4 separate regions of the Homo sapiens genome follow, and all the other regions are linked to region 3. Evidence: promoter capture Hi-C in 16 types of primary human blood cells and fetal thymus (Javierre and others, 2016). All regions are on one chromosome and are shown on one strand. Each heading gives the region's core, a stretch centred on a gene start or on the middle of the fragment in contact. The rest is flanking DNA. Distances are from core to core; before and after follow the strand shown.

What was found. The method cuts DNA at HindIII sites, captures the fragments that hold promoters and counts their contacts. A CHiCAGO score of 5 or more calls a contact.
Region 1: a contact is called between a fragment that was not itself captured here and the fragment with the promoter of CEP135 in region 3, in 2 of 17 cell types (total B cells and activated CD4 T cells). The highest score is 9.4, in total B cells.
Region 2: a contact is called between a fragment that was not itself captured here and the fragment with the promoter of CEP135 in region 3, in 5 of 17 cell types (total CD8 T cells, total B cells, erythroblasts and 2 more). The highest score is 6.4, in total CD8 T cells.
Region 4: the fragment with the promoter of SRD5A3 here is called in contact with the fragment with the promoter of CEP135 in region 3 in 8 of 17 cell types (naive CD8 T cells, activated CD4 T cells, total B cells and 5 more); the score reaches 10.4 in naive CD8 T cells.

Annotation. Positions count from the first base shown.
Region 1 is chr4:56,912,586-56,915,318 of GRCh38, reverse strand. All of the region lies in intron 2 of REST (RE1 silencing transcription factor), which reads right to left. Among named protein-coding and RNA genes, the nearest start is that of REST, 6.1 kb to the right of the region's middle. RefSeq lists an enhancer at 51-551. The HindIII fragment of the contact is 4,758 bases long and covers 1-2,733 here.
Region 2 is chr4:56,833,381-56,836,256 of GRCh38, reverse strand. No RefSeq gene overlaps it. Among named protein-coding and RNA genes, the nearest start is that of SPINK2, 13 kb to the right of the region's middle. The HindIII fragment of the contact is 4,006 bases long and covers 1-2,876 here.
Region 3 is chr4:55,947,453-55,950,342 of GRCh38, reverse strand. It overlaps CEP135 (centrosomal protein 135), which reads right to left and starts at 1,398. Exons shown (of 26, transcript NM_025009.5): 1 at 1,284-1,398. It overlaps EXOC1-AS1 (EXOC1 antisense RNA 1), which reads left to right and starts at 2,331. Exons shown (of 5, transcript XR_941069.4): 1 at 2,331-2,503. RefSeq lists silencers at 993-1,452, 1,503-1,642 and enhancers at 857-1,821, 2,440-2,589. The HindIII fragment of the contact is 6,740 bases long and covers 1-2,890 here.
Region 4 is chr4:55,344,750-55,347,601 of GRCh38, reverse strand. It overlaps SRD5A3 (steroid 5 alpha-reductase 3), which reads right to left and starts at 1,360. Exons shown (of 5, transcript NM_024592.5): 1 at 1,045-1,360. The coding sequence starts at 1,265. RefSeq lists silencers at 778-1,047, 1,258-1,427 and an enhancer at 879-1,639. The HindIII fragment of the contact is 3,550 bases long and covers 1-2,404 here.

The DNA of each region.
Region 1 (2,733 bases), core at 146-2,645, 960 kb before region 3:
AACAGAGATCACGCCATTGCACTCCAGCCTGAGCAACAGAGCAAGACTCCATCTCAAAAAAAAAAAAAAAAAAAAAAATACACACACACACACACACAAAATTGGCCAGGCGTGGTGGCTCACGCCTGTAATCTTTGGGAGGCCGCGGCGGGTGGATCACTTGAGGCCGGGAGTTCGAGACCAGCCTGCCCAACATGGAGAAACCTTGTCTCTACTAAAAATACAAAATTAGCAGGTGTGGTGGCGCATGCCTGGAATCCCAGCTACTCAGGAGGCTGAGGCAGGATAATTGCTTGTACCTGGGAGGCGGAGGTTGCAGTGAGCCGAGATTGCACCATTGCACTCCACCCTGGGCGACAAGAGTAAAACTGTCTCAAAAAAAAAAAAAAAAAAAAAGTTAAAAAAAAAAAAAATCAGAATGAAGGTAATACTGGGGAAAAATAAGCATTAAGACCAAATAAACCAGGCCAGGCTTGGTGGCTCAGGCCTGTAATCCCAGCACTTCAGGAGGCTGAGGTGGGCAGACGACCTGAGGTCAGGAGTTCAAGACTAGCCTGGCCAACACGGTGAAACCACATCTCTACTGAAAATACAAAAATTAGCCGGGCATGGTGGAAGGCACCTGTAATCCCAGCTAAATGAATATGGTGTACTTATTTATGAGTTTAGTATATATGATGGCTGGGATTTAAGATATTGTAGGTAAGGCTGGTTTAGTCTAACAGTCTGTCTAATTCAAACTGTCAAGTGATTAATGGGGTTGTGTCCCCAAGTAACTTTCATTTCCTACTTTATGTATTTTTGTAATGCTTGACCTTTACTTCTGAAATCGAATGGTTTCAAAGCATCGAGACAATCAATCACAGCTTATGACAAATTCCAAAGGGACTACAAATTCTTTTACTGGACTAAATTTTAAAGCATTCAACACATGAGCCATCCATCTGCTGGGGCTTAGCAATCCTGTAACAGAGGTCACTCTTGTAATGGAATTTCACCTGCAAGTTTTATTGTTTAAGCCTGCCAGTTAATAGTTTTAAGTATCTGGGATATAAAAAATAAGTAAATAAAATAAATTTTTAAAAATTAAGTCGCTGGATACGGTGGCTCACACCCATAATCCCAGCACTTTGGGAGGCTAAGGGCAGATTACTTGAGCTCAGGAGTTACAGACCAATCTGGGCAACATGGCGAAACCCTGTCTCTACCATACAAATATCAGCCAGGTGTGGTGGCATGCGTCTGTGGTCCCAGCTACCTGGGGGACTGAGGCGAGAGGGTCACAAGTCCAGGAGGTCAAGGCTGCAGTGAGCAGTGATCTCGCCACTGCACTCCAGGATGGGTGACAAAGTAAAACTATCTCAAAAAAAAAACTGGCCAGGCGCGGTGGCTCACGCCTGTAATCCCAGCACTTTGGGAGGCCGAGGCAGATCACGAGGTCAGGAGTTCGAGACTAGCCTGGCCAACATAGTGAAACCCCATCTCTACTAAAAAAACAAAAAATTAGCTAGCCATGGTGGTGGGCACCTATAATCCCAGCTACTGGGGAGGCTGAGGCATGAGAATCGCTTGAACCTGGGAGGTGGAGGTTGTAGTGAGCCGAGATCGCGTCACTGCACTCCAGCCTGGGGCACAGAGGGAGATCCTATCTCCAAAACAAAACAAAACAAAAATTAAGTCTACCACTCCACTTAAAGCAGCATCAATTCCCCTCCTCAGTGTCCCCTTTACCAGTGGGGTTCAGTCCTGTCAAGTGCCAACTCCTGTAAGAGGAGACCTGAGGCAAACAGCATCCCACACCCCCTATTCATTTGTGACCCCAAGAGTAGAGTACTGGATTATTCTCTATCCATTCATCAGGACCCAAATGTACCAATTCTTACCAAGAAAATGTAACAGAAATGTCCAAATGAGCTACCAATAGTTAAAAACATTTATTTGAAAAATGAGGCCCCTCAATTACAATATTTAAAACCCAATTTAAATTTTAAAAAATTAGGGTGTGGTAGGGCACATCTGTAGTCCCAGTTACTTTGGAGGTTGAGATGGGAGGACTGCCTGAACCCAGGAGGTAGAGGCTGTGGTGAGCTGTGATCACACCACTGCCTGGGCTCCAGGGTGAGACTCCATCTCAAATAAATCAATAAATGAATAAATAAATCCAATTAAAAAAACTACAGTGAACAGCAGCTGAATAAAACCCAATTTAAAAGTGAATGACTAGTATGCACAGTGGCTCACGCCTATAATCCCAACACTTGGGAAGACTGTGGCAGGAGGATCACTTGAGGCCAGGTGTTCAAGACCAGCCTGGGCAACATAGTGAGACCCCCCATCTCCACAAAAAGAAATTAAAAAAAAAAAAAAAGTTTCGGCTGGGTGCGGTAGCCCACCCCTATAATCCCAGCAATTTAGGAGGCCAAAGTGGGTAGATCACCTGAGGTCAGGAGTTTGAGACCAGCCTGGCCAATATGGCAAAACCCCATCTCTACTAAAAATACAAAAATTAGCCAGGGGTGGCACTCACGCCTGTAATCCCAGCATTCTGGGAGGCTGAGGTGGGCGGATCACGAGGTCAGGAGTTCAAGACCAGCCTGGGCAACATGGTGAAACCCCATCTCTACTAAAAATACAAAATCAGCTGGGTGTGGTGGTGGGCACCTATAGTCCCAGCCACTCAGGAGGCTGAGGCAGGAGAACTGCTTGAACCTGGGAGACAGAGGTTGCAGTGAG
Region 2 (2,876 bases), core at 131-2,630, 890 kb before region 3:
TCATTTTTGGATGTGCACATCTTTGGAAGTGCTTTAACCCTACCCCCTTTTTACTCAAAGTATGGTCCAAAGACAAGCAGCAGCAGCTTAACCTGGGAGCTTGTAGACAGGTGGAATTCTGGGCCTCGCCCTAGACTCACTGAATCTGAGTGATTCATATGGACATCAAAGTTTGAGAAGAACTGCTTTAGCCACATGGAGTCTCTTGGAATTCTCTAAAGGAGTCACGCTCGCCTTTGCACATGCTGATCTTCCCAAGTCAGAAATACCCCTTTCTCTATCTGCTAGGCAAGCTAGCCTCTTATTTACCCTTCTTATTTAACTAATCATCAGGGAACCGGCAAAAGAAGAAAGATAGGGGAGACTGGTAAATATATAGTCAGTGGGAAAAAGAATGCTGGGATAAGACTGCAATATGAAATATAACACTGCTTAATATTCACAGAGCAATGAAATGGCAACCTTTGGAGATATCTTTTCTTTCTTTCTTTTTTTAAACAAGAGTCTCGCTTCTTCGTTCATGCTGGAGTGCAATGGCGCGCTCTTGGCTCACTGCAATCTCCACCTCCTGGATTCAAGCAATTCTCCTGCCTCAGTCTCCCCAGTAGCTGGGATTACAGGCATGTGCCACCAAGCCTGGCTAATTTTTGTATTTTTAGTAGAGACTGGGTTTCACCCTGCTGGCCAGGCTGGTCTCAAACTCCTGAAGTGATCCACCTCAAGTGATCTACCCGCCTCGGCCTACCAAAGTGCTGGGATTACAGGCGTGAGACACCGCACCTGGCCTGGAGATATCTTTTCTACCCAACAAAATCATTTGCCACTTATTTTCCATAAGCTAACATCTAACTTTACAGACTCCGGACCCTATCAATGGTAAATAAATGAAATGAAATGACTTCCTCTACAATCAGACAACTTCCATGCCGGCCTTTTAGACAGTACTCTAGTATGACTTTGAAAGGACATATTTGGGCCGGGCGCGGTGGCTCACGCCTGTAATTCCAGCACTTTGGGAGGCCGAGGCGAGCGGATCACAAGGTCGAGAGATCGAGACCATCCTGACCAACATGGTGAAACCCTATCTCTAATAAAAATACAAAAAATTAGCTGGGCGTGGTGGTATGTGCCTGTAGTTCCAGCTACTCAGGAGGCTGAGGCAGGAGAATTGCTTGAAACCACCGGAAGGCGGAGGTTGCAGTGAGCCAAGATCATGTCACTGCACTCCAGCCTGTGCAACAAGAGCGAAACTCTGTCTCAAAAAAAAAAAAAAAGGACATATTTGGAGGACACATTAGGATAATTTTTCTTTTTTTTTTTTTTGAGATGGAGTCTGTCTCTGTCACCCAGGCTGGAGTGCAGTAACGTGATCTTGGCTCACTGCAACTTCTGCCTTCCGGTGGTTTCAAGCAATTCTCCTGCCTCAGCCTCCCGAGTAGCTGGGACTACAGGTGCCCACCACCACGCCCGGCTAATTTTTTTGTATTTTTAGTAGAGATGGGGTTTCACTGTGTTAGCCAGAATAGTCTCGATCTCCTGACCTCATGATCCACCCACGTTGACCTCCCTAAGTGCTGGGATTACAGGCTTGAGCCACTGCGCCTGGCCGGATAATTTTTCTTAAATGTTTAAACTTGGTGCCAGAGGCAATATGGAGCATACATGTTGGGTTGCCAACTTGATCCACAATTGAATTTGAATTATGTTAGCTTCAGGGGTAAAGTTTCTATCTACATCACAGAGCTGAATGGTAAGGAAAACCATATTGAATTAGGCTTGTCTTTTAATTTTTTGTAGAGATGGGACTCTCACAATGTTGCCCAGGTTAGTCTCAAATCCTGGCCTCAAGCGATCCTCCCATCTCCGCCTCCCAAAGTGCTGGGATTAGAACACCCAGCCAAATTCTATGTTTTGACCACTGTATTTTCCTAGCTGTTTTCCAGCTAATCAGAAGCACATACAAGTCAAAAATACCCAGAACACATAATTTCACAATACCTTGTAGAAAGCAGGGCAAGAACGGTTATATTAACATGTAATTCTAAGTCATATAATTGTTTTGTTTATGGTGAGCATATTTTGTAAAATAATTGGGATGCCTACTGCCTACTCTGACAAAAGTTGTTTTAATTTTTCTCATAGAAACTTGGGAATCTTTTAGTTGAAAGTTTCACAAATGTCTAAACATTAAATTACATTATGTTTAAATTGCCCTTCATTGTAGAATATAATAAAATTACCTATTCTTTTTTTTTTTTTTTTTTTTTTTTTTTGAGAAGGAGTTTCGCTCTTGTTGCCCATGCTGGAGTGCAATAATGGCCAGATCTCAGCTCATTGCAATCTCTGCCTCCTCCCAGGTTCAAGCAATTCTCCCGCCTTAGCCTCCTGAGTAGCTGGGATTACAGGCATGCGCCACCACGCCCGGCTAATTTTGTATTTTTTTTTTAGTAGAGATGGGATTTCTCCATGTTAGTCAGGCTGGTCTCAAACTTCTGACCTCAGGTGATCCTAACTGCCTACGGCCTCCCAAAGTGCTGGGATTACAGGCCTGAGCCACCGCACCCGGCTAAAATTACCTATTCTCAATACTTAGACTTAAGGCCACTACGATTTACTAGATCAGCATTAATTACTCAGGTTCATTTAAATCATGATGATGTTAAAGAAGGAAAAGAGAATCTGTATGCTCAGAATATTTTGAATTATATACCTTTATGGCCGGGCACACTGGCTCATGCCTATAATTCCAGCCCTTTGGGAGGCCAAGGAAGGGGAATCACTTGAGGTCAAGCCAACATGGTGAAACCTCATCTTTACTAAAAATACAAAAATTAGCCAGGTGTGGTGGCACAGGCCTATAGTCTCACCTATTCGGG
Region 3 (2,890 bases), core at 149-2,648:
GTCGATCCTCACAGCTACCCTGTGAGGGAGAAAGACCAATGATATTATCCCTACTTAAACATGAGGAAAGGCTGCCTCAAGAAAGTAACTCTTCCAAAACCACGGGGCCACAAAGTAGGTGGGCAGTCATCAGAGACCAGGTCTCCTGAGTCTCTCCTTGGTCACTCCTTTCTGTATATCTTTCTCTTTGCTCTTGTTAACTTTTTTTGAATGGCTTCCTCATAGATTTCCTAGGTTCTTTCCACAAGAGACACCTAAGTGATGCAGGGTTTTTAGGGAAATTCCTGCAGACATCAGAAATACACCTGACAAATCCAGGTGTATTACTAGCAGGGTGTAAACTTACAGGCGGTGCACCACTCAAAACATTTCCCCTCTTTGCTACCAACTCCAGTTACCCAGAGATAATACCTCCTCACATCCTGCTTTGGAGGGGAGAGAATGAGAATGAATATGAATCAATAAATCATGGCCAGGGCCTCAATACACAGGACGGATTAAAATCCTCCCAGATAGAAACATGTTAGGCCGTCCCCACCCATGAACTGTTGTCTTTCCCCATAACCCCCATCCAAATATGGTGGCTATACTCTAAGTTTCTAGCAAAGCAACATAAAAGGTTAGGTTTGGGGGTCCCCCATACATATATGTGTAGAAGTATCCATCTACTTAACTCTGGGGGTTGGCGTCTCAAAACCAGTACATTTAATGCTGTATGTATGTGTGCACAGGGCTTAAGAAGATAAACAAGAAACCCCAAACGACAACAAAGAAACCCGTTAGCTGTGGTTATCTCAGAGTCCTTTCTTATTGAACTCAAAGTAGTAAAGGCTGGAAAGCAGTGGAGAGGCTTCAAAGGAGCTGGGCAAAGGTTAATTAAAGGCTGTCGTCCTACGCTTTGCGACATTTTTGTTACAAAGAGCATGGATGACTGCTACACTGAGAAGGCATTTTAATGTTTAAATCTATCCATTGGTCAACAGCAAGCCTGTCTGCACGGCCCACACAGACGCTCCTTGACGAGTCGGCCCAAGCTCTCCTCCACCCAATCTCCGGTTTGCAACTTTACCGTCGGGTGTTGACGGGAAGGGGGTGTGGGAGCGGGGTGGGTGGGAAGAGTCCCCGCGCCCCTCCCCGCCCGGTCTGACCCGGCCTGGCCTCACTTCCTCCCGCGGCCGCGCGGCCTCCCGGCAGTGCCCGAGCCCGGCCCGCGGGTACCGCCCAGAAGGCGAAGGCGCCACCACCGCCGCAGCTGGCCCTCTGGCTCCCACATCCGGACTCACCGGCAGCTCCAGCCGCCGTTGCCTCCGCCTCCAGCCGCATTGCCCTCAGGCCTCGAGTCCCCCACTAGCTCCTTCCGTCCAGGCACGGGCTCCGGCGCTAGAGCAGTTTGAAAATGGCGCGGAGGGACGATCGGGGCCGACACGGAGGAGGCGCCGCGGTTGCCCCGGTAACGGGAGCGGCGGACGATTAGCGGCTCGCGGCGGGGACGCGCTTGGCGACGATGGCGGAGCCCCAGTGCCCGGAAATGCAACGGCCCGGACAGCGCGAGGCCACGGCGCCCCCTGGAGGTCGGCGCCCGCGGCCAGCAAATGCCAAACCTCAGCTGGTGCCTGAGCTGGCATCCTCTTCCTCCTGTCGGCGGGAGGTGTGGATCACCTACTGCGTGCGGGGAACAAACGCCGCCCCAGTACCGGTCCCTGCAGCGGAGTAGCCTTCACCTGCAAGGTGAACGCCTGCTCACCACGTAATCCCCAAACGCAGATATCACGTTGTCTCTGCAACTTTCCCTGACAACCACCCAATGCAATTAATTATCCCACAATAGTATCTCCCGCAGGCTCTCTGTAGAACCATAGAATTCATCCATCAAAATACAATCATTTGTTGATCCGTCTCTCTCTGCCGCCCCCAAATGTGAATTCCTTGAGTCAGAGACTATTCTACTCAGCAAAACATTTGTGAGTGGAATTAAATTGAAATAAACCGTTATAGTCCACTCACAGATGGAAAACACATAGTAAAATCCTAGAATTCCATTTCTCCCCTGAAAATTTCCCAGACAGTCAGAGGGAGTTTCATTCTTTCCTGTTTACTTTTCTCCCAAATAGGCCTTCTGAGGCAGCAGAATAGGGAAGGAAGTCAGAAGACTGACCAGCTCATACCTATGGAATGCCTATCATACATACACTTAAAATTATGGCAAGCTCACGCAGGCGCACTAAGAGAGAAAAAACAAGAAAACAGATATGACAATTATAGGAAATCCCCTCCCTAGAGTTAAAGAAGTGTAGGAAGTGGGTATAAAAGAACAAAGGCTATATTAATCCAGGGCTGACACCACTTGAAGATAAGCCCGTTCCTCTCTCTGGTATATTCTTTGCTTAATAAATCTTGTGGGGTGGTTATTTGTGTGTCTCATCCAATTCTTTGTTCATAACACCAAGAACCTGGAACTCCCAACTTCCAATCTGGTAACATATTTTGGTGAGCCAGCCAGGAGGTAAGCCCAGAAGAACTGGGACTTTTTATTTTCTTTCTTTTTTGCTTCAGCTCTTTCACTTTGGTTTAAAGCTGCCTTCTGCTGGCACGGATTGGGCAGTTAAGAACGAAAAAGGCACTGGCCGCTTGAAGACTCCCATTGTTGCGGGAAAGCAGAGGACCAGAAAGACCAATGGGTGGAGCAGGAGGATTTTATTAAGGTGTGCACTGGCTCCGTGGATTTGCATCCAAAAAGCTGAGCCCTGAACAAAGACAGAGCTTGGCTTATATAGGCTAAATTAAAAAAGCAGAACCAAGGCAGTAAATCACACAGTGACAGGTTTTGTAATCTATAGCATAACTGCTGAAATTTGCATAACTTTTGGCTTTGCTTAGCTGGTGGCCTTGC
Region 4 (2,852 bases), core at 111-2,610, 600 kb after region 3:
GGCTAGAGTGCAGTGCCATGATTATAGCCCACTGCAGTCTCCAATGCCTGATCTCAGATGATCTTCCTGCCTTCATTCCAAGTAGCTGGCACTACAGGCACACGCCACCAAGCCCTGCCAATTTTTTGTATTTTCAGGAGAGACGGAGTCTCACTATATTTCCCAGCCTGGTCTCGAACTCCTGAACTCAAGCGATCCGCCTGCCTCAGCCTCCTAAAGTGCTGGGATTACAGGCGTGAGCCACTGCGCCCGGCCTAAGATGCATCTTAAGGGGCACTGTTCTATTTCTACCATCTCGAATAGTATTTGGCCAACTCTTTCCAGCTATGTCCTGAATTTAAAGTGGAAAAAGGAGAAGAAGAAAATTATAACAGGTCTCTATTTAAAACCTGACGATTTAATCCTTCGCTGAACTGGGTTACAGAATTTTTCGAAAGTCAAATGGAGCTTCGGGACGGGCCTGCCTATGACCTGCACCTTGGGCCACCTTCCCCAGGGGCACCTGCCAAGGTGCAGGTTAGGGCGACTCAGTCCTTTGTCCCCACTGCAAGGGTTGGGAAGAGAAACGGGGGAAGCCGAGGCCGAAGAGCCGGCCTAACTTCATTTCCACAAATGATTCCCGGTGACCTCAAGTTAGAGTATGAGCCACTGGAGTGCAGGGTACGGGAAAAAGGAGAATTTGGGGCAAGGGGCACTTCAATTTGCCGCCTAAATTCGCATGACCAGGCCTAAATTCGGATGCGTTGCCATTTCCCACAGGGAAAGGCTCCGTGCGGCTACCAGTTCACATTCCTCCAGCTGAGTGCAAGCGGCTCCGCTCTCCCTCGGCGTCCGCGGACACCCGGGCACTGCTCCCCGGAGCCACGCAGCAGCCGGGGCATGGCCGGGGCCAGGCCGAGGGAGCGCCGTGCTGCGCCCGGGAACCCGCCAGGGCCTCCCAGGCCGGGTCCCGCCTCTGCTGCCCCCTGCTGGCTGCCCGCGAGCCGGGGCGCCCCGAACTCTCAGCGCCTTGACCACCGCGGCTCGGGACCGGGGCGCGGTTACCTCTTGGGGACATCAAAGGCTCGGCAGGCGGCGGGGCGCGACGGCTCCCCACACTTGGTTTTCCCATAGCGGATCAGGTCCTGGAAGATCGCGCAGCCCGGGAGCAGGCCGGGCGGCAGGAGCTGCAGCAGTAGGGTCAGCAGGAAGGCGGCGGTCAGCGTGAGCCACACCGCGCGCAGCGGGTTCAGCGCCGAGTGCTCGGCCTCCGCCCAGGGAGCCATGGCCCGCGTGCCCGCCTTCCGCGCTGCTGGCGCCCCCACCGCCCGCTAGCCCGCGGAAGAGCGGCCACTAGCGCGCGGCGCACCGGTCTCAGCCTAGCGGGACGTCGGTGACGCGGCGCGGGGCGGGGACGCGCAGAGCCCCTCCCGGACTCGCCGCTCAGCCGCGGAGGTCCTTGGTCCTGGTCGCGCTGGCGCTGGGTGGTCGCTCGCAGTCCCTAATCTGGGCATGGGGATTCTTAGATGGAGCTCCAGAATATGATTCATCAGAAGCAAAGACGCAAAACAGACGAGACCACGTGTCTGCCACTCTTATCAACATTATCTCCAAAGCAAAAAATGGAAACCTTACATGTTGCATTTTAGTTTATTTAGCTAAATTATGATACACTGACATGTTAGAATATCATGCAGTCATTGAGAATTATTATGACGAGTGTAGAAACAGGGAAAGCTGTTTAGGAAACAATATGTGAAGTGAAAAACAAAACCAACCATAAAAATACATAGCTATGATTGCAAACAACTATATTAATATGAATGTGTGTATATATGGATAAAGAAGGCAGATCACACCCAAAAATGAATAATTATGTTAGGATGCTGGAAATGTGTTGGATATGTGTATAATGTAAACATGTAGACAAGTAATTGCACATAATAATAAAAATCATAGTGGTAAAAACTGTGTTTAAAAAACAGCAGTCGCTTACCAATAGGGTTCCAATCCTTAGAAGCAAAGTTTTTAAATTCCATCAGCTGTTTCCTGTAACATTTATCTCAGGTAGTGACAATGCTATTTATTGACTCACTGATTTTAAACAACACTGATTTTATTTACTATAAGTGAAAATCTAGCTCTTTTAAGTATTTAAAAGTCTTTAAAATGTTAATTCTGAAGTATTGTATGCCTACTGTATGACAGGCATCATTTTGGATACTGAGGACAGAGGGGTTTACAAGATAATTGTCACTGCTTATTTGGAGCTTACATTTTTGAGATTGGGTGGTGGGTGAGAAGTGGAAGAGGGGAGAGGTAGCCAACTCATCACCCTTACCCCAATGAGATACCCGATATGTGTGTTGAATAAACATCAGGGTGGGTAGGTTAGTGGGACTTTGGACTGTTAAATGAGCAAGCTTTTAAAGTTTTCTTCTTTGTGCAAAAGACACCTAAGGCTTTACCCGTCCTTTGACAGCCAGGTGATTAAGGATGGTTAAATTGGCATTCTAGCTAGGACAATGAGGCCTTATTGAGTGATCCTGGATCTCTTTTGCGGGAGTCACCCTTTCACTGTTTCTTTCTTTTCTTTTTTTTTTTTTTGAGATGGAGTCTCGCTTTGTCGCCCAGGCTGGAGTGCAGTGGCCTGATCTCTGCTCACTGCAAGCTCTGCCTCCCAGGTTCACACCATTCTCCTACCTCAGCCTCCCGAATAGCTGGGACTACAGGTGCCCCCCCAACCACGCCTGGCTTTTTTTTTTTTTTTTTTTTTGTATTTTTAGTGGAGATGGGGTTTCACTGTGTTAGCCAGGATGGTCTTGATCTCCTGACCTCGTGATCCATCTGCCTCGGCCTCCCAAAGTGCTGGG